3 separate regions of the Homo sapiens genome follow, and all the other regions are linked to region 1. The links are contacts of gene promoters, found by promoter capture Hi-C in blood cells and fetal thymus (Javierre and others, 2016). All regions are on one chromosome and are shown on one strand. The core of a region is centred on a gene start or on the middle of the fragment in contact, and the rest is flanking DNA. Distances in the headings are between cores, read along the strand shown.

Region 1 (3,989 bases), core at 516-3,015:
TTCATGGTATCATGGGACTATGATACCTACTTGTGGGTTGTTTTAAGGATTAAATAAGGTATAAAGTGCATAGTAAAGTATCAGTATGTTCATTCTCTTTCTTCTCTCCCTTATACTGTAATTATCTGTTTATCTGCTAATTTCCCTCACCAGATTGTGTGGTCCAGACAGGCAGTTTTCTATGCCTTATTCATCTTTATAACCCCAACAAGCACAATGGCTGTCTTAAAATTAGTAAATATTTGCTGAGTAAATGAAGACCTAAGAGAGTGAAAAAGGTTGTATTACCCGTTTATTTGTTAATCTAACTGCCACACATCCCTTAAAAGAAATCAAGTACAGCTTTTGTTAGGGAAGCTTAAAATTCATGGCAATGATACCATACACAGTTAATCATTAGCTTTGGAAAGTCTGTTGAGCAGAAAGCGGTGCACAAAGGAAGTAGGGCTGCTTCCCACAATAGCTTAATATGTTTTCAGTGATGAACGTTTTTGGAATGCTGGGCACACCCGACTTCCAAATACGCAAGCACATTCCAAATGGAAATTTCAATTACTGTTTTTCTTTTTTTCTGCCGTAACAGTTATCACAGCATTTTAATGAAGGTCAGACTTAAATACTGACAAGCAGGGAAACCAATAATTACCAGATTGCTTCATTCATTTTGTGGACAGCATTATAAACTTTTCAGGCATTCTAAGATTGCCTGACAAAATTAGAAAAAATTGTTAAGTCCCCACAACCTGCTTGAGATGCTCACAAGTGTTCCATCCCAAAGTACACGTTTGCCTCTTCTTATTGGTATTTAGGTTCTGGCATCTGATTCCCCTTTCTTCTTCTATTTATATTAGCCTTCAGGTGGGAACTATGGAAAACCCACCTGGTGGGGGTGTATTTTTCTTAAGAGATTGTGTTATATGGTATCATATTTAGAAAATAAAGAAATTATTTTCATAATAGCAACGCTAATCACAGGAAAAACTTGATACATTCTTGACTAGACTTTAGGGGAAAGTACAAGTTCTTAGTGGGCGGAGGGGGGCAAAGACGAAGCAATTTGGCTCCAAAAATTCTAGAATCTCGTGGCATATTTTTATCAAATTCAAGCTTATCTTTAAAAAAATCCGAGAATTTTTCTAATTTCTAAGAATTGATTCTAACCCGCGATACTCCCTAGATGGGAGCGCAGTGCTTTAAATAATAGCATTTAAATAAGCGGCTGCTGATTTGAAGTCCACCTGGGGAGTCCGAGTTCTAGGACCGGTCCTTGGCCCTGCCACACGCCAATACAACCATCAAAGTCAAAATCCCTTAACTCAAATTTAAATACATTCCTAAAGCAGAAAGCATCCCGATAGGAAAATCCTACAGCTCACAGCAAGCAGCAGGGAAACATTTATCTCTGGCGGCACTGATTTAAGCTTAAAAGATTTGGTATCGTTTAAAAAAAAAAAAAAGCTGGGTGGGGCCGAGGAGAATCCACCCAAACTTTCCTCAGGAAGTAGGATGTTTACTGAGTAAATATGCGGTAGTCACAGAAACACCTGCTACTCCTTTAAGACCTCAGGAGCCACCACCGCCACCTCCTGGCCACATCCGGGCACTTCTCTGCAAACTCCTGGCGTCCCGACGCCCGAGTCGTTGGGCTTATTTGAAACACACGCACAACCAATCAAGCGGCGCCTGCCGGGACTTGGAGAGCGTCGACCAATCACCGCCCCTCTGGAGACTCCTGCCTATGGGAAAGAGGTTGACATCACGCGCCAATCGGCATGGCTCTTAGAGAGAGCAGCTTAGTTTTTGAATCGGTTGTGGCGGCCGCCGGCGAGGAATGGCGGTATTTGTGAGAGGAGTCGGCGTTTGAAGAGGTGGAACTCCTAGGGCTTTTTTGAGAGTGGTAAGGACTCTGTGTGAGTGAGAGAGGTGCAAGTGGGCGAGCGGCTCCAGAGCCAAGGGCTCTTTTGCCTGCGGTCGACGTCCCCGCCCCTAGTGACCGCGAATTCCGGAGCGCCCCAGCTCAGGCTTCCCGGATCCGGGAACTCCCTCGCCGCACCCCACCCCCAGCAGCCGGGCCCTGACGCGGAGTGGGAGACCGAAGCCCCCAGTATTGCTGGGCATCTTCGCCCTCACCTGTTGGCTCTTTTGGACAGAAGAGTGTGGGTGAAGGGAGGGAGTTGGGAAAGGGATTTTGGCAAGCCGCGCAGCCCTGTGGCTTTGGGGGCCGGCACTTGCAGCCTTTGGGGGCTTATCTCAGAGTGCGCCGTGGTTTTATTCTAGGATTCATCCTGGCTTCTTTGCGGGAAGTTTAATTTTTCGTTTTTGCAAGATAAATCCAGGCCATCCGCCCCTCGTCCTCCCCAGCCACCCGGCACAGATGTGTCCGGCTTAGTGGTTAAAGGCGCAGCCTCTGGATTTAGCCGGGCTTTGAATACCTCTTTTACCCCTTACTAACAGTTTGACTTAGGGGAAGTTGCTTAACCTCTCTGTTCCTACGTTTCTTCATCCATACATTGAAAATAATAATAGTACCTGCCTCTTAGGATTACTGCAGAGATTAAAAGGTTTAGGACAATGTCTGCCACGTATTAAGCGTTAAGTAAATGTCAGTTGTTAATAGTAATGTTATTGTTAATAACACCACCATTATATCTTGGATTGCATTTTAGTCCTTCACCTTGGAAGATGATTGCCTAAAAAGTATTTAAGTAAAAGGAAACTTGAATGTTTGTTTACATGGCAAATTTTATCTCTGGGATAAAAGGGGGCATGTGTTATAGTGTGTTTAGTTAGAAGCTCCTTGGGTCTGTTCTTGGGTGAGAAGCTGTGTAGGTTTATGAACACTGATCCTATTGTGCTTATTTTAAAGGCTTCTGGAATACAGTAATTTGAAAAAAAGTGATTAATATATTTCCATTTCTAATCTGACTGTTGGATGTTAGTTATGTCATCAAGTTACCGTAGTGCATCTCTTTTTCTCTATACATTTTGAAGCTGTTTTGGCAATAAATTGATCATATACAGTATCATCAGGGGCAATTTTAATTATTAATCATCTGCTTTCGATCATCTGCTATGCTCCCTCCCTTTTATTAATCATCTGCTTTTGATCATTTGCTGTGCTCCCTCTTAAAGAGGGAGGCATAGGAGAAAAATGTAAATATTTTCAAGAAGTTTTTTTTTTTTTTTTAGACGGAGTCTACCTCTTGTTACCTAGACTGGAGTGCAGTGGCACGATCTCGGCTCACTGCAACCTCTGCCTCCCGGGTTCAAGCGATTCTCCTGCCTCAGCCTCCTGAGTAGCTGGGATTACAGGTGCCTGCCACCAAGCCCAGCTAATTTTTGTATTTTTAGTAGAGACGGGGTTTCATTGTGTTGGCCAGGCTGGTCTCGAACTCCTGACCTCGTGATCCGCCCGCCTTGGCCTCCCAAAGTGCTAGGATTACAAGTGTGAGCCACCGCGTCCGGCCTTTCAAATGGTATTTTTGATTTTCCTCTTCCAGTCCTTAAAGCAGGTTAGCTCATCTCCTGACTTTTTTTTTTTTTTAAACATTCTTTTAAGGGGACTTTGAATGAAAGCCACTTTAATGCCTTTTCATTGGAAATGGTTGAGTGTAGAAGACTTAAAATAATAGGGCTGGATAGAATTTATCATTGATTCTAAATTAAGGCTGTTACAACTATTGGACCGCTCCTTTGGAGAGCCTTAGAATAATGATTGACATGGATGTATGGTAAAGCCATAAGAAATATCCATATTGTGAATATTACATGAGAATAGTTGTTTGTTGTTCACTTTAAGACATCTATTCAGTTTTCATCTTAACTAGATTTGAGTTGTAGTACTATGTGTGTTCCACCAATGTGGAAACTGAGGTTTAACTGACTATGTGCAGGGCTGAGACAGGAAGCTGAGTTGCCTGATTTTGAAGTGTCACATAACAGCATACAGTTTAAACTGTTACTTTGCTAAGACTCTGGAGGAAGGTATT
Region 2 (4,117 bases), core at 570-3,069, 2.6 Mb before region 1:
GCTGCTAAACATCCTATAAATTACACGATAGCCCCTGACAACAAAGAATTATCTGGCTCATAATGTCCATAGTGATGAGGTTGGGAAACCTGAGACAAATGATGAAATGTGAAAATGAACTGCACTGTATCAATGTTATATTTCCTGAATTTAGTAATTTTTCTGTGGCTTCAAAAAACAATAGCCTTGTTCTTAGGAAATACACATCAAAGTATTTAGGAATAAAGGAACATATCTCAACTTACAAATGACTCAGAAAAAAATATGTATACATGTAGTGGAAAAGAATGAATGATAAAGTAATGGGGCAATATGCAATAATTGATTAATCTGAGTAGAGTAGATACAGAAATTTTTTTATTATTATTGCAGTTTAAAATTATACCAAAATTAAAAGCTAAACAAGTATTACCATGCCCATAAATTTATTTTACCTGGGAAACTTGGCACAATTTCCCAATATATATGTGCAATATAGCGAATCAGCTTTCTTTTACTCCTTTCTCAAAATAAATTACCCTATCTTGAATGGATACTTGCAAATTGAACCCAAATAACTCATGTAAGCTGAAAGTATAATTTCTAAAATGTGAATTGCACAAAGTTAGAAATGCTTAGATGTCTACCAAGGACATGACATACTATTGTATATCACAGTAAATTCATGGCCAATATCCCTGCATTGTATATTTTAGGCTTTCAATACACACAGAAAGCTGAAACCACATAAGATCTGAACATGATCAGTGCAAATGGATATACAAGAAATAATACAAAAAGATTTTTTTAAGACTCAGATTTTCATAAGTTTAACATTAGTTCTGAATTCTTGAATTTTATCATTTCTATTTCTGGGCAATTGTTACTTTAAACAGCATGCAACAAATTATAATAACAGCTTCATAAATAACAACAGTTTACTTTTGGAAAACAATTCTTTAAAATTTTAAATCCAGGAAAAAAAAATTTAGGGAACTTACAGACGTTTGGGACATACTTGACTGCTGTGTGACACTTCCTGTGGGAGATGTAGATGGTCTTCCACTGGACAAACTTGCCTAAAATAGTAAGACTTTTAGAATATGTCGGTAAAAACCTGAAGTTAAGAACTTTCTGGTACCATGATAACACAAAACCACAACAATAAATGTCAAAAGGCCTATGTATGAAACAACTAATTTTATAGTCAACATGGCTTAAGCTTCGGTTAAACAGATTTTTTAAATAAGGAAAAGCTGAATGGTGAAAACAGGGGATCCAAAGACTAATCTTATTTTATTAGCTACTTTATTGTCAGTTTCACTTTATGGGTCTCTGTCATCTTTAAAGTGGAATCACTACTCCAGAGTTATGAAAAAGAAATTAGAGCTACAGCAAGAGCCAGTGAGTGGGTTTCAGTTTCCTAACTTGTATCACAAACATGTTATTTAAAAATTACACTACTAAGAAGCAACAGCTGAGAATCTGTTGGTAACAGAAATAAACCTTTTTCAGGTTCAGTCAATTGAGATCCTCCTCTGGTGAGGGGATTTAAGATTAAATCTTACACAGCTTTATTTAAATAGTACAATAGTAACAAAAATCTTTTTTAAAAACAAGCATTTAATAATGAAATCCTGTTATCAGTAGGAATAATATGATTGGATTTTAGAAAAATGGATATACCTATCTTTGTATAAAAAATTTCTGGAGAAATATGTATTAGATTGTTACTGTGGCCACCTTTGAAGAACGGGAAACAGTGATAGACAGGGAAAAGGAACAGCTTTACTTTATCTCTTATAAACAACTTAATATTGTTTGATTTTTTAATGAGTATAATTACTTATATAATTTTTTTAATCTTATTTTTAGTAAAAATACAATTTATGTAAGCCTAAGTACTCACTGTTGTACCTAGAACTTTATACACATAAACTAGCATAGCATTTCTTCAATCTGGATAAAAAGCACTGAGACAAAAGCTAGAAACAGAGTAACATAAAAAAACATATCCCCTTTTTCTCAATTAACTTCTATTCGGCAACCTATTAATATATTTCCTCCGGGAAAAATAACCACAGGACATCTGAGAACTCTGAAATAATACCCAATCTATTTATTTTCAGTAACTACCTACAGATAACAGAAACTTTGATCTCATAAACTCTTATTTTAGTCTTACCTGAACAGCAGCAAGGCTCTGAAGCTGGGAGCTGCTTAAATGCTGCTGCTGAAGAGCTGCAGTATGCAGCATCAAGTGCTGTTGTTGGGCTGCATACATTTGCTGAAGGTACTGAGCAGCTGAGCTGGGGGGCCGATGCAATGCCTGTTGAATTACCTGTGATAAGTCAATTGAACCAATGTCAAACCATAATCTCAACCTTTATCTTAATCAGAAAATCAAAGTATAAAAAAGTGGCAGTTTAAAATTTCACTGCTTTAATACATAATATCATCAAGCTTATTAACATTATTTCTTTCCTAGTTACATATCACTAGAAATCACTAACTTGTACACATTAAAACTACCCAGTGGGCCGGGCACGGTGGCTCACGCCTGTTAATTCCAGCACTTTGGGAGGCCGAGGTGGGCGGATCACAAGGTCAGGAGATCAAGACCATCCTGGCTAACATGGTGAAACCCCGTCTCTACTAAAAACACAAAAAATTAGCCAGGCATGGTGGCACATGCCTGTAGCCCCAGCTACTCGGGAGGCTGAGGCAGGAGAATCGCTTGAACCTGTGAGGTGAAGGCTGCAGTTGAGCCAAGATCATGCCACTGCACTCCAGCCTGGGCGACACAGCAAGACTCCCATCTCAAAAAAAAAAAAACAAAACAAAACCCAGTGGACAATTCGCAAAAGACAGGCCAGGCCAACTAAGCATTTCAAAAGATTTTCAATCTCACCAGTAGTCAAAAACTTACAAATTAAAACAAGATACTGTTTTCCAACTTTCAGATGGATAAAGATTTAAAAGAATACTACTACTACCTGGGGAAACCAATACTCCCATATTGCTAGTAAAAATTCAAGTTGGCATAACCTTTTTGGATAAAACTTCGTAGAATTCAGGGCTTGGGTGTGGAGAGAAATACCTTTACCATGCAACCATAACAAATAGTAATGTAGATCAGTGCTGTCCTATACAGTAACAACTAGTCACATGTGCCTACTGAGCACTTAAAATGTGGTTAGTGCAACTAAAGAATTGAGTTAATTTTAAATTGAATTTTAATTAATTTTAATTTTAATGTAAACAGCCACAAGTAACTACTGGCCACTATAGTGTACATTGCTGATACCGATCTATATTTACTAACAAAAAGAAAATCAGTGGGTTACAAAATAGTATATAGAGTAAGATACCATTTTTATATTAAAATATTTGAAAGAATCCACAGGAAAACTTTCAAAGACCACTGATGGGTAGCTAGATTAGAGGTGATTTTTAGCTTCTACTTCATACTCTTCTATAGATGTCTGAAAATCTTACAATGAGCAGGTATTATTAATAATCATATAAAATTACAAAGCAGCTGGGCAGGTTGGCTCATGCCTGTGATCCCACCACTTTGGGAGGCCAAGGCAGGCAGGTCACCTGAGGTCAGGAGTTCAAGACTAGCCTGGCCAACATAGTGAAACCCTGTCTCTACTAAAAATACAAAACTTGGCCAGGCATGGTGGCATGCACCTGTAATCCCAGATACTCAGGAGGCTCAGGTGGGAGAACTGCTTGAACCCAGGAGGTGGAGGCTGCAGTGACCAGAGATCATGCCACTGCACTCCAGCCTAGACGACAGAGCAAGACCCCATCTCAAAAAAATAATAATAATAAAATAAAAATAAAAAATAAAATTATAAAGCTATTTCTTCTTTAGAAAATTACTCAATAATTTAAAAAATTTTTAAATGTCAAATACCTTGTTTTGCTTCAACATTGAATAAAACTATTCTTACTTAATTCCTTAAAAAGTGTTAATTACTGTGAATATTTGTTAGTAAAATGTAAAATCTGAGCCTGAAACTTCATAAATAAATATAGAAAAGTCAAGTACTCTACTAAAATCAGAGAAAATTCTTACATTTCTCCAAAAGGTTAAGTCAGAATAAGTCAATCCTATACAACCAAATCC
Region 3 (3,939 bases), core at 400-2,899, 3.0 Mb before region 1:
AAAGGGAAGAAAAAATAGATTTGGGGGATAAAATGATGAATTTAGTAAATTTAAATAACATGAGACTGCACCATATAATTTGCTTATAGAATCTCTCTCTCCAGGAAGACCTTTAAAGATGAGGAATATATGTTTCACCTTTGAAGTCTCAACACCCTGAACAATACAACATGTTGCAGACTAGGTATTTAGTGTTTGTTAAATGAACATCACAACTTTGCAAGTGGTTCATTCATTCCAGTATAATAAGATTCCAGTTATTGTGAAAAGCCATTTAAACTGTTTTCCTTACCAAGGAAAAGTTGATAGATGAGTAATTATTCTTTAACTTAAAAAGAGAATGAAAAAGTATGTGATTTTTTTAAAATTATTTTTTGTTTGTTTAGTTTTCTGTAAAGTAAAATAGCAGTTAAAAGCTAAAATGCGTGTATTTACATTCTTAGGCCTGCTACTGACCTTCTTCAAGTGATTTTACCTCCCAACGTTTCAGTTTCTCCATTTGCAGAAGGGAGATAATGGTGGTTGCCTTATCTCACAAGGATGTCATGAAAATAAGTCAGATAAATTGCTTTGCCCTCCTTGGAGAGGGGCTCTAGAAAGTAAGCATTATTAGATATGATGATGAATACCCACAACTTCAAAGATATTTTTAAATTGCCCCCCCTCCGCCCCCAAGTCTTTGAACATGTTAAGCCTATGAATAGCACTGGGGTAGGTGTTTATATATTTCTGGCAAGCTTTCACCTCTTGTTAAAGCAGTAAATGGTCTTTGAACAAACGTATTTCTCATTCTTTGATAACTATGCTTCCTTGTTTGTACACTTGAAAGATGATTATAATCTGGCATATGAGGTCAAGTTGAACTCCTTGGTGCCATTACAGTTCAAATGTAGCTTTAATTGAGTTTTTCTTCCAAGGTTGAAAATAAGTCACCCAGTTCACTTTAGCAAACTACTCGCATTTTTTAAAAAGATTGTGGGGAATGTAACTGTTTTTGCAACTGATATGTATAATGTTTTTCATTTTAGTTATAATATCCTCATTGATCATACAAAAAAGTCAGTATTTGTATTTCTTCATTATTGCATTTTTCTGTTTTCCTTAAATTGTTTTTAATAACTATAATTATGCCTTTTAACACTTATATAGACAGCCATAGTACACACATAAATATCACCAAAGTGAAAACCTAGAGCCCCAAGACAAAAAAAAAAAAAAAAATGATAGTCAAACATCATCTAGAGAAAGATTCTAGCTGCAGGTGTGCATCAAGTTCATAATTGGTGTTATTTTAAAAATTCACAAACCATTAGCACTTCCACCCTTCTCCATATATCTCTTAACTATATACCCAAGTCAAAACCACTTCCTGCCAGAGTAACTACAACATACCCATCAGAGCGCTGTAAAATCATTACTTGCAAAGTAAAGAGTAAGACAGACTTCTCCTCTCATTAATAATACCAGTTGCTGTCATATATATTACTCATATATTCTCCCCACAACCACCCTTCAAGGGAAGTCTTAGTACATCCGGTTGACACATGTGGAATGTAAAGTTGGGTGACTTATGCTAGATTCCCTCAGCTAGGTTAGAACAGGGTAAAAGTACAGGACCACAATAATATCCTTATTTCAATGTCTTCCTGTTTCCTTTTTATATCAAGGAAGAAATGAGAATTTGAGGCAACACAAATGAAGACCATATATACTTTGATACCTACCTAGGAGGGGAGATACAAACCAGAGTAAAGGAAAAATATGGGAAAAGTTGCCTCATTTCCACCTAGTGATGGTGGAACCCTTGGAACCCTCTTCACATCCCATAACGACTGACAGAATGGACACTGAAAAACAGGCCCACCCCTCAGGCAGAACCACTGGAAGAAATACCCTAACCCCTATACGTGAAGGATTAGCACTACTATTTTCAGAATATTATTAAAATTTAATTTTGAAACTTCTCTTTAGTGATATTCCCAGAAACCTATAACAGATACCACCAGTGTAAACTCCTCTCAAATACATTTATTTTGGGTAGGCCTCAAACTGGTAGGATGGTCCAAACCCTCACCCTTCTAGAGAAAGCACTCAGGAATGCTTAAATTTGCCTAGGCCAAAGGTCGCAAATTAATAGCCTATAATAGACCAGATTTTATCTCAAAACGTTTTTTTATTGGTGCATTGCAATGACTTCAGCTATCAACAACCTAAGCTAGGAGGTCCCCAGGCCATCCTTACATCTGACAAGCTGCCTACAAATTTAGGGGTTCCCACTACCCCTTCAAGTTTCATAATTCAGTAGAATGACTTAGAGAACTCAGGAAAGTGTTATTTCGGTTTTATTACAGTTTTATCATAGCAAAAGGATGTTTATTATAGTTATTATTATGGTTTTATTATAGCAAAAGGATTCAAATCAAAACCAGCCAAAGGGAGAGACACATAGAGTGAGGTCTGGGAGGGTCCCAGAAAGAAGGTTCCATTGTCCCTCTCCTCATGTCCTCAGGGACACATTTTCCTCCTAGCACACTGAGTACTGCCAACCACGGACGTTCATCCAAGCTTCAGTGTGTCCAGAGTTTTTATTGGGGCTTCATTACAGGCATGATTGGATGAATCACTAGTCATAAGGCTCAGACATGTGGCTCCAAGTCTCTCAAGAGGTCGGGCTAGTATCATGGGGCCCAAAGCCCCAACACTCTAATCACATGGCTGACCAACCCCCAGTCATGAGTCATCTCGTTAGTGTAAACTATTGGGTCTAGTCCAAGAGGCCTACCAAGAAAAGACACTCCCACCATTCTTGGTGAATTCCAAGGGTTTAGAGGCTACTTCCCAGGGTTCAGGAACAAAAGCCATCCAAATTCTTTACCATGCACTTATATAATATTTAAATTTTATTTCAATTTAGCTACCAACATTCTATAATCAGTGGTGTTGACATAAAAATCTGAATTTTTGTCTTCTCTTGCAATACTGACAATTTTAGGCTCAATTTCTGTAAGATTGCTGCCTCCTTAAAAAGGGAAGCTCATTCTCCCTACCATCTCTATAGTCTCCATTTTCTTATTCCCAGTGTGATTCACTTCTTTGTTTCCTTTCTGTCCACTGCAGACATTTAAATTTGCATATCCTGGGCTAATTCTTGGGTATTTTCGCTGTTTTTACTTCCATCACATATTATTACCTTAAAAGAATGAACATGAAGGAATGACAGTTACCTTTTGTCACTTCATTCTCATCTTATTTAAAACCACTCCTCCCTTACACTTTGTATGACGGTGGGTGCATGTGTACACACGCTTGTGCCTGTGCCATCTATTTGTCTCTTAAGTCTCGAGCCAGGCTAACATGGAATTTTTGACTGCAGAACCAGGACAAGCTGAATTAAAACTCAATGTCATCCTCAGAGTCAAAACCCATAACCAACTCCAGACCTTACAAAGGAAGCCCCTCATTCTGAAGGACAAAAGAAAAAGCATGTTTCTCAGTATTTTTAAAGCTAATGCTTCCTTCATACGCATAAAATTCTCACATCCTTCATGTGAAATACAACCTAAGTAACAAAATAAAGAGAACAAGTATCGTCATTTGCAAACTTCATATACCCTTTCTCTCACTATACCCCTTTGAGAATCACTGGTTTAAATAATATAAAAGGCATGAAACAAGCCCTAAGTACCTCAGGAACCATGTGGACATCTGTAGTCTCTCTCAGATACAGCTGTCACATAGACCTTGAAGTACAGTCAACCCTCAATATTCATAGATTCTGTATTTGTGGATTCACCTAGTCACCGAAATTGTTTATAATCTCAAAAGCAATACCTGCAGTGCTTTCATAGTCATTCATGGGCATGTGCAGAGCCCTGAAAAGTTTGATTTCCCCAACACATAGGTTCTCTTTTGCCTTTGTAGTCCAAAAAGGACACTATA

The links. The method cuts DNA at HindIII sites, captures the fragments that hold promoters and counts their contacts. A CHiCAGO score of 5 or more calls a contact.
Region 2: a contact is called between a fragment that was not itself captured here and the fragment with the promoter of ECT2 in region 1, in 1 of 17 cell types (fetal thymus). The highest score is 7.8, in fetal thymus.
Region 3: a contact is called between a fragment that was not itself captured here and the fragment with the promoter of ECT2 in region 1, in 1 of 17 cell types (fetal thymus). The highest score is 5.1, in fetal thymus.

What each region holds. Positions count from the first base shown.
Region 1 is chr3:172,748,961-172,752,949 of GRCh38, forward strand. ECT2 (epithelial cell transforming 2) reads left to right here and starts at 1,766. Exons shown (of 25, transcript NM_001258315.2): 1 at 1,766-1,897. RefSeq lists enhancers at 1,302-1,571, 1,672-1,721, 1,742-2,001 and a silencer at 2,112-2,181. The HindIII fragment of the contact is 5,304 bases long and covers 1,420-3,989 here.
Region 2 is chr3:170,170,393-170,174,509 of GRCh38, forward strand. It overlaps PHC3 (polyhomeotic homolog 3), which reads right to left. Exons shown (of 15, transcript NM_024947.4): 3 at 2,165-2,320; 4 at 981-1,058. Among named protein-coding and RNA genes, the nearest start is that of PHC3, 9.3 kb to the right of the region's middle. The HindIII fragment of the contact is 1,241 bases long and covers 1,200-2,440 here.
Region 3 is chr3:169,758,000-169,761,938 of GRCh38, forward strand. No RefSeq gene overlaps it. Among named protein-coding and RNA genes, the nearest start is that of ACTRT3, 9.6 kb to the right of the region's middle. The HindIII fragment of the contact is 1,828 bases long and covers 736-2,563 here.